2 separate regions of the Homo sapiens genome follow, and region 1 is linked to region 2. The links are contacts of gene promoters, found by promoter capture Hi-C in blood cells and fetal thymus (Javierre and others, 2016). All regions are on one chromosome and are shown on one strand. The core of a region is centred on a gene start or on the middle of the fragment in contact, and the rest is flanking DNA. Distances in the headings are between cores, read along the strand shown. Region 1 overlaps SUGT1 (SGT1 assembly cochaperone of MIS12 kinetochore complex). Region 2 holds the start of OLFM4 (olfactomedin 4).

Region 1 (4,951 bases), core at 369-2,868, 360 kb after region 2:
AGCCTGGCCAACATGGTGAAACCCCGTTTCTACAAAAATTAGCCAGGCACGGTGGCATGTGCCTGTAGTCCCAACTACTCAGGAGGCTGAGGCAGGAGAATTGTTTGAACCCAGGAGGAGGAGGCTGCAGTGAGCCGAAATTGCGCCACTGCACTCCAGCCTACGCAAGAGCGAGACTCTGTCTCAAAAAACAACAACAAAAAAAGTCATACTCATTTAACATGGCTAGTCAATTCTAAGACATGTGTGATCACAAAACTAACTAGATCTTTTTCATGAAGTACACCACACAAGTATAACCAAAGCACATTATCTTACTAATATAACCAAATTCTGCTTTAAATTTCAAATCTAAAGAAAAAAATGCACATCCAGCTATAATTTACCAACATACATATTCTTACCTCAAAGCAATGGCTTCAGATTTTATTCAACATTTTCCAAATCATCTCAGGAAGAAATAGCATTTATCTGATAAACCGTTATCGATTATTCTGCAATATACTAAATTTGCAAATAATAGTAATCAACATTGAAAAATGATTCAGTCTACTGACCTCTTTTTCTGAAAATTCCACATTTACATCATTCTTCTGAACATTCTTGATCATAAGTGTAATGACTACTTGAGATTCTGTTTGATACCAGTCATACCTATTAAAAAAAAAAAAGAAACTTAGGTAACTCTTCTAATTTTTTTAAAGCTATTGTCAAAACAAAAACTAGTCTGATAAACAACAAGAGCCCCACCTGGAGGAAGAAAACAGCAAAGCAACTACTGATTCACAGAAACAACTTTATATAACTAGTTTTTTATGCTCTGTACTAATGGAAAAAAATGGTAAGGTAAATGATGCTCACACCTTTCCAGTAGACTTAAATACTTGCATGATTTTCTGGGTTCTGACTCATCTCTAGCACTGTTGTGCTTAAACTAATATAAATATTAAAGATGTCATTTATTTTAAACAAGCTAATATTTATATGCCATCAATAGAGTTTTTATACTCTCATTTCATCCAAATACTACAGATAAACACTTAAATCCCTATTTTACAGATGATAAAACTTAAGCTCAGAAAGGTGAAGCAATAAGCCTGAGTCAACACTCCAAGCTCTCAAAACTGATGTTGGAAGCAGATAGACTTGAGCACACAAAACAGGGGCAAATGAACTAAAATTAAAATCATATGAAGTTTAACTGTGTCAGGCACAACATCATATACAACACTTTCCTTCAATTTCAAGATACATGGAAAGACTAATGGGTCTAGATTCTAATTATGTGCATCTTTTGTACTGAAAGCTCTAGAAACGTAGGAATCCTCACTTTCAAATTAGACTAGATTAAAAGCTCTCTGAGGGCAGAGCTGTTTATCCTGTCGCTATTATATCCCTAGGACCAAGCACAGTGTCCGGTACACGTATATTAAGTTAGATGTGGGATTATTTTATGCTCTGAACACCTTAATTATTATTTCATGGTTATGTGCCCTACCCCTGCTGCTGCCACCAGGGCAAGTCAAAGTTCCTTATCTACTAGGTACTTGGAGTTTCATCCTGTATCTCCCCACAACTACCATGAATAGATGGTTTTTAACTTTTCCAGGCCATTTTAGGTAATTATATCCAAAACCACCTTGATTAAAGAAATGAACTTTAAGAGTCTCGGTTTCCCTTTGCAATTCAGTAAGGATGCAAAGCTCCAGATCAACGGCTTGTGTTTCTGTTACGGTCCTAAGAATACAAGCTGTACACAGGCTAATGAATAATTAAAAGTCAAAGACTTGCTAGTTGCTTATTCATTATTATAATTGCTGCCCTCAGCAATATTAACTTTCAACGCATACAGAATGTTCCTATGAAAAATTTGCTCCAAATATAAAAGGCAGGTTAAGTTACAATTCTGTTAGATCTACTACTAACTTGTTTACCTGTGTAGTAACATAAACTTAACTGGAAGAGACTCTCCTTAACATATGGAAAGGTAACATAATATGAAACCAAGTGAAGCAACTTTAAAGATGAGAAATGATTTGAATTTAACTGAAGTACAAATATTAATCCTTAAACAGCCTTAAAATTGGCTTTACATAAAGCTATTACACAATTTTAGAAAACAAACAAAAACTTAAAAATCACATGGTAAGAATTTGCTTACTATTAAACTACAGGGTTTCTTCCTCTTTAGGCATATTTATCATGCATTGTTTTATGAAAAAGAAACACTCACTTGATTTTTGACTGATGAGTCCACTGGGATGCAGATTGATTTTGGTAAGTTGAAAGAGAAAGATTTTTACAAGTCAGTTTAGCAACTGTATTATTAAAATGCATGTATTATTAATTTACCCAACACTGCAGTTATTTTGATATAAAATAACTACATGAAAATTTTCTTCAAAGACATAGTAACTGTAATTGTTAAATACCACTAGTTTTCGGAAAAAAATTAGAATGCTCAGCATTTAAAAAATCTTAGATTGAATTTCATAAAAGATTTTTGCTCTAAAATAACAGAACTTTAAATAACAGAAAACTTCTAAAGGCATGATTAGAAAAGGTTGCTTATATAAAATGGCCAGTTCTAAGATTCAGCAACTTCCTAAACTAAAATAACATTGTTTTAAAAATCGTTTTAAAGAAACAGAGTAATTAGCCAGGCTTGGTGGTGTACATCTGTAGTCCCAGCTACTTGGAAGGCTGAGGTGGGAAGATTGCTTGAGCCCAGGAGTTTGAAGCTCAAGTGCACTATGATGGCACCACTGCACTCCAGCCTGCATGACAGAGCAAGACCCTGTCAATTTCCAATTTTCTTTAACTTTTGTCTTAGCCTATCATAAAAAGCCCTACAAGTGATTCAAACTGTTGAACCTAAATAAATGCAATAAGGTTTTAGTAACGAAAAGATAAATGATCATCATGACCATATTAAAACACACGAAATCAACTTTAACCACACACTAAATTCATTAAAATAGGCCAATAATTTTCATGACTGGAAACTTCTATATTTATCAAAAAATGATTTTATTTCAGTGCCTAGAGGAACCAGCACTTAAATGGAATTGCTTAATATTTAAATATCAGACAGCTCATCCTGAGTCTTGTCTCAAATATATTTGGTAGCTGAAATTTAAAATAATAAAAACATGAAGAATGAAAACTTTGGACTTACCACCTCAGATTCTGAGCCTATTAAAACATAAAAAGGAAACATTTTCAGGGAACAGTGCATTTTTAAGCAAAGTTATTTGTATGATTTCTATAGCACAAACATACTGATTAAGCAAGCAAATTCTCCGTACCTTTCAACTAAAGAAAAGTGGTTTCATTTTGCATCCTGAATTCATTTTAGACTCCTTAGTAATTTCTTACTGATATACCATACAAGCAAATCCACCCAAATCCCCCTTTCAACATAAGAAGCTATGCAAAAACCAGTGTATCTTTGGAAGTCCACATCTAAGGAAACGTATACTATTTAAAAGAAATTATAAAGATAAAAACAAATTTGTTTAAACCAAAAAAATTTCAGATGTTTACTTCTTTTTAAATTGAAACAAATACCAAGGGAGACCCACATACCATTCTGAGCTTCTTGACACCTTTTAATCCAGACACTGAAATTAGCATCTGCACCTAGAAAGAAAAAACTGACTATAACATCACTCATCTGCACAACCTATAAATCAACAAATACTTACTGAATACCTACTACATCCCAGGCAGTGTTCTAGGCACTGGGGAGTCGGCAGCGAACAAAACCTGTCTTAACAGACCTTATCACCAACTCTACTATAGTTATAAATATACCAATAGTTTAACATTTAGTTGTTAATCATGAAACATTTTGATTTTTTAAAAATTTTAACTACAGTCAACCTTAATTTCACAGATACAAATAATCTGCATTTCCCCCAATCCCGCTGCTCTTAGAGAAGCTTCCTCACACACAGAACAAAATCAGATGTAAATCAGACTCCCAATATGCCATCAGTTAGGGTGGGGAGGAGGCTTGGTAACTGGGAGCTGAGTTGAGGTTCAAAAGCCGTTCCCAGCCCCAGCTTGCTCTTCAATGCAGATACCTATTCAGTCCACTATTCTCTCAGTGGCTTTATCTGTTACCATGCCTTTCCTACCAACACCAAGCATCTTTAAATTCCGTGAAGTTTTGTCCTATCTCCAAGTTACATGGCAGTCGAGAGGCTATAGGTGATGTATTATATATTTATAGATAACAGTGTAAATGTATGCATAAACAAATTATTCACTTCTGGAGACACAGAACAATGATTACATTTAAACAGTCACAGTGCATAGTAAGATATGTTAAAAGTATTAAAAGTACTCTAAATAAGAGCTTATTAATTCAAGTTAACTGCAGACAAGATAAATTTGAAAATCTTAAATTAAAAATTTCTTAACAAAAATTTCTACTTTACTAATTTATAAAAGAAATCCAACTATACCAGCATTAATAAAAAATTTAAATACACTCTCACACACACTGTATTCTAGAGAACTATTGTATCAAAATCTATTATATCAAAAAGATTTGAGTAACCTATTATTTTAAGTAATCAGTAACTAAAACCAAGCAATTTATCACACAAAGAGGGGAAAAGGTAACAATTCTTTACCCTGTCTGATAAAAATAGAAGCCTAAAAGTTTAACTTAACTTTTTCCCAGATTTTGGCCGGGCATGGTGGCTCATACCTGTAATCCCAGCACTTTGGGAGTCCAAGGCAGGTGGATCACTTGAGGTCAAGAGTTGGAGACCAGCCTGGCCAACACGATGAAACCCCGTCTCTACTAAAAATACAAAAATTAGCCAGGCTTGGTGGTGCATGCCTGTAGTCCCAGCTGCTCAGGAGGTTGAGGCAGGAGAATCACCTGAACTTGAGAGACAGAGAACTGCACTATGGCCTGGACAACACAGTGAGACTC
Region 2 (5,337 bases), core at 75-2,574:
AAAGTCTTTTCCTCCCCCTTCTCCCATTTGCCCTTCCATTCAAGCATGATAATGTAAGCAGCTACCTGACCTGTGAGGAAAGATCCTAGAGGCTTAGAGAGAGAAGCTTTGGCCCAGATAAGACTCCCCCACCCCAAGTTATACCTTAGCAAAAATAGCCTAGGAGGTTTGCAGAGTGGGGTTCCCGCAGAAAGGCCCAGAGTGAAATGAATAACTGCTTCTTACCTCCTAACCTCTCATGCCCTCCAGCCCATTCTCCTTTCTTTAAAGGAGATCCAAAGAGGACTCATCCCCCACGGAACTGGCTTACTATGCCTTCAATGCACTTAGCCTAGCTGTACCAGCCTCGTTGTAATGCATGACTTTTGGTTTTGTTTGTTTGTTGCTACTGTTGTTTGGAGCTGGAAATGGTCCTGAAGATTCCCTGTAAAGAAGACTGCAAAGAGTGAACACTCCCCTAGGCGAATGTCCACTGGTAATAACACTTTGCTAAAGACCAGTAACTCCCCCCTTATTTCTGACACCCACCTCCTTTATAAACCAGGCCAAGAGAAATGGTCAGGGCTTCAACTAGGGCACTGCGGCTCTCACTCCCTCGAGGGCTACTGTTCACCATTCCGGGATCCTGCCAGGCAGCAAAACAACTGGACAAACTTCCCAGAGCTGCAACTCACAGAGTCTTTCCCTAACAGTTCCCATCTTGGACTATATATTAGAATCACCTGGGGAGAGGTTTTTTAAAATATTTGATTTGTATACATCTATGTAGGATTTTTTTAAGTACAGAACCCAGGCATCTGTACTTTTAGAGTCCCCCCGGCCACCCATTCTAATGTGCAGCCAGATTTGAGAATTCCTCTAAAGCATAGATATTCCCAAAAGTCCCAGCTGGAGAACTGCGATATCGTCTCTCTTGCTAACAATTTAATTATTTTACTGAGGCTTTAATTCATTTCCGGGGCACCTATAGTTAACAAAATGAGTCGTAAATCTTTTAGAGTGCCCAGGTCTAGCCATCCATGAAATTGTATTCAGGTACCCAAAAGCAAATGGAAGGGAATGAATGCAGCTCATTCAGATTCTGGGGCCTCCTCACCTGGGACACAGAACCTCCGCTGCCTAAGCTGCGGCTGGAGCTGGAGCCCGACCTGGAGCTGGAGCTGAAGCTGGAGCTGGAGTCAACACCTGGGAAAGAGCTGAAGCCGGGGCTGGGAATTGGAGGTCCCACATCCCCCAAATCCCCTGCAGCTTGGCCAAGGAAGAACAGAAGGGCTAGGAGAAATGAGAGGCCGGGCCTCATCTTGTCCTCTTAGCTGGAGCCGCTGGCTCTGCAGAGAGCCCAGGGGCTTCTTATAGTGCCCAGTGGTGATTTCCCCATGGCCAGCATGTAGGAAAAGAGGGAGTGGCCAGGGAACGTGTGAACTGCCCCAGGAGGTTCAGGACACCCAGGAATCTGAGTCATGGCCCACACCTTGTCAGTGAGGCCCACTCTGTGAGCTGCCCTTGGATCCAGATATCCCCTGCCAAACATTAACTCAAATGTGCTTTGTAAAGCCCAATATTTGGTTTCCCACTTGGTACTTCCTTGAAAGAGATGAGACCAAAGTAGTCTTTGTGGATGACACAGAGTTTGGAGGCTCCATGGAGGAAAAGCAACCCTCAGTCCTTTGCCTCACAGCACTTCTAGTGCTCTCCCCCATTTTACTGAATACTACTTTTCACAGACAGTTAGGGAACTTGCCTTAGGGACTGTGGCTCTCCTCCAGGAGCGACTGAGCTTCCCTCTTCAGTTCCTATTGCCCAAGTTGTCGTTGACCTGTTCCTTACAGTGACTGTTTCTAGACAAAGTTGTCTAACAACCCCACTCTGAAGGAAAGACCAGCAACGTTTTGTTCCCTGGCCAACCAGGTAGGACTCTGCCCTATCAAGTACTCACCACTGTATGCTTCATATAGGGAAGAGAAAACACCCAAATAAACAAAGGGATCCCGATGACCCAGTGCCCGCTCTCCCAGGCCAGGGCACTGCCTCAAACCCAGTCAAGGAGGACCCCAGGAGCAGTTTCTCTCTCCAGAAAACTTTGACCTCTATTGCCCCTGAGCTTCTTGTGAGCCAGCCAGGCATTCAAGATCTCAAGCTTATTCTTCATAAAACTGAGAAATAAGATGCATTTTCTCTTGCTCAGCAGCTCTGACCCTGGGCTCCAGGATCCATTTGCCCTGCTCAACATTTCACACACCTTTGTGACCTCTGCCTTCTTCCCTGGAGAAAGAAAAAGGTGTTAGTCTCGGTATTAAGACCCAGCTCTGGGCCGGGGATGCTGGCTCGCACCTGTAATCCCAGCACTTTGGGAGGCCAAGGTGGGAGGATGGCTTGAGCTCAAGAGTTGGAGACCATCCTGGGCAATGTGGTGAGACCCTGTCTCTACAAAAAATGAAAAAAATAGCCAAGTGTGGCGGTATGCACCTGTGGTCCCAGCTACTTGGGAAGCTGAGGTGGGAGGATCACCTGAGCCTGGGAGGTTGCGGCTGTAGTGAGCCATGTTCACACCACTGCACTGCAGCATGGGTGACAGAGTAAGGCTGTCTCAAAAGAACAAAAACAAACAAAAAAGCTGTGTCACAATGAGTCGGTGGCCTTGAGCATGTCACTTAGCCCCTCTAGGGTTGTAACAATTCCTAAATTGTTTGAATTAAATGAAATATTGTATGGGAAGTTGCTTATGACTTTTGACGTGCCATAAAAATGTCAGCTTTTTCATTGTTTGTTTAATTTCCTAAAGACTAGATCAATATGTAAGATTGCTGGGTTCAAAACAAGGAGAGAAGGTTCATGCCCCACTCCACCCCACCCCAGAAGCTCCACACAAACTCTCAGAATAAGCACAGTGCTAATGTGAGAAACAGGGTCTTAAACCCCTGGTACACTATTCAGAAACTGGGGTGGTGGGGAGGGGGAAGGGGAGACAGGAAAACCACAAATGGATGGATAGAGAGTGAAGAAGAACAGATAGGGAGAAATGTGGGCTGTAAAGTTCATTGTTCTCTGTGGGAAGCAGTTCAGCCTTGGCCTCTTTGGTCAAATGTTCTAACCACTTAGATCCCCAGTCCAAGGCAGGGAATGCATACAGAATGTGTGAGAATGAAAACTGGGAGACTGAATCCATTATTCTAAGATTGAATGCAATGAATATGGACATAAGGAGAAGAATGTGTCTCTACCTCCCAGCACAATTCCCCTCTTCCTCCCGATTCCCACCAAAACAAATGGCAAATCTGTTCTCATTTGCTAGTAGCCTCTGCATGTGGCTGTAATGAGCCTTCCTTGTACCTTTTTTCAAGGAGCATGTTGGTGCCCTGTCAGAAAGAAAATCTCATTAACAGTGGTATAGCCTGTAGTCATGACTACCTTTAAGGTCTCCTATGGCCAATTCATTAGAAGACCCCTTACCAGAGGGGTGGCAATACTGCAGAAATGGGACAGCAGTTCTCCCAAGCACAAATGTGCCTTAGCCAGGGAAGAACCACCACCCACTGTGCTCATAAGCTTCTTTGTTCTTGTATGGCTCCAGAGTTTCCAGAATAAAACTTTAATCTATTTGGTAGCCCTCAAATGCACAAAAGCATTGGTGATGCCTCCGTAATGAGATTATTAATAATAATGAGATTATTAATAAAAATAGTTTGATCAGTTTCCCTGCAAATACCTTTGTCCTAAGAAACAAGCAGCCTCCTGGTTGTATGACAGACTCAAAGACAGGAACAAAATTATCAGAGCTGCAAAGCAAAGTGTATTATTTGTAAAAATGTGTTCTACCCTGGGCTCCTTCTAGAGTAAGGGGTCACCGAAATTCACATGAGTAATACAGCAATCTTCACTGACAGTTTGAAAGAAAGTTACTATTTATGCACTTCATTAGGGGACCTCCCCAAACCGTACTTCTTGAACAGTTGCAACACACAAGGAAGACATCCGTGTAGACATAACTTTAATTTAATCCTCCTGTCATTAAAAATCAAACATACTGCTGCATTTTTGCAGGAGGGTATCTATGGGGTATCTGGTGTATATGAGGAAAACAGAGGCTGTGTTTGGTCTACAGATTGGTAATAGAGGCTTTTCATATCAGTTGACTACATCGTCAACAACCCTCAAATTTCTATTAGCAATATCAACAATCGTGTATATAAGTAATAATCAGCTGACCCCATTTATTTACCCTGGAAAGTGGTCCCTCAGTTAACAGTGTGTGTTAGAGCCTACTCTGTGCAGAACATCAGGCCCTATGATGATAAGGAAAGAAGAATGCATAATTTTTTCTAATGAAAATGCCTAGTCACTTACGGAAGGCAGGCCACTTCAGGGAATATACTAGGAATAAACACAAATTGAACACAAAACCAGTTAAATGAATACTGAGAAATGACTGGATAGACTCCAGAGACCCAAGATGGGTTGAAGTGTGAAGAATTTGCCAGGTGCTGAGCTTCTTAGGGATGGAGACCATGGCTTCATTGGTTTTCAATCTCCAGCACCTAGCCCAGTGCTTGGCATTTGGTGTCTAATAAACGTTTGTACACTGAGGAATATATTTAATAAATGAATGCATGCATGCATGAATGAGTGGATTGATTTAATAAGAATTGTGAAGGAAATTCTTAAATAACTATTGGAGAAAATACTTATTTTTTTAAAAATTAGTGTTGAAGAAAAGGGAGTGATTTCCAAGCAAGAGAAATTGTACAAGTTAAAGAACATAGGCAACTCAAATTCTCTCCAGGGTCATGATTATGCCCTTGTACCTACAATCTCATGTAGCCCACTCTAGCAACTCATACTTGGATTCGAGTTCTTAAGGTTATTCCTCAGCCTGACCTGAACACCAAATCAACATTCTCACTCCCTAAGCCTATCCTATATCAAGAACTACCTAAATTTTGCCATGTTATTGTGGTTTAGAAGATCAAAACCCCCAATTACAGAATTTTCAGCCAAATACTTATGTTTTCAATCTGCAGCAAAATCATTCCTGTTGACAAAATGCAGAACCAAACTAGTAAAAATGGCAACTAATGGAAAACAGGGCAAACTTCTACGCAAATGCAGAAAGGCAACAACTGAAGTGTTGAAAGGTAGCATGTACTAATTTGGGGGGAAAAAGAGAAGCTTTACACCCTCCACAGAGAAAGTTTGGACTAATGAGCCATAACAGTGCCCAGAAGCCTTTCCCCACCACCATCACAAGGGGTGAATGGACTCAGGAGACACCAAACTTCAGGTTTATCTCTGGACCCTACTAGATGGAATCTGCCCAGAGACCTAGAACCAGACTGCCCT

The links. Contacts are between HindIII fragments. The CHiCAGO score rates a contact against its expected background, and 5 or more counts as called.
Region 1: a contact is called between a fragment that was not itself captured here and the fragment with the promoter of OLFM4 in region 2, in 1 of 17 cell types (neutrophils). The highest score is 5.2, in neutrophils.

The regions. Positions count from the first base shown.
Region 1 is chr13:52,661,340-52,666,290 of GRCh38, reverse strand. SUGT1 (SGT1 assembly cochaperone of MIS12 kinetochore complex) reads right to left here. Exons shown (of 13, transcript NM_006704.5): 6 at 3,589-3,642; 7 at 3,179-3,195; 8 at 2,234-2,256; 9 at 558-654. Among named protein-coding and RNA genes, the nearest start is that of SUGT1, 11 kb to the right of the region's middle. The HindIII fragment of the contact is 4,657 bases long and covers 1-3,946 here.
Region 2 is chr13:53,024,800-53,030,136 of GRCh38, reverse strand. OLFM4 (olfactomedin 4) reads right to left here and starts at 1,324. Exons shown (of 5, transcript NM_006418.5): 1 at 1,097-1,324. The coding sequence starts at 1,300. The HindIII fragment of the contact is 2,031 bases long and covers 109-2,139 here.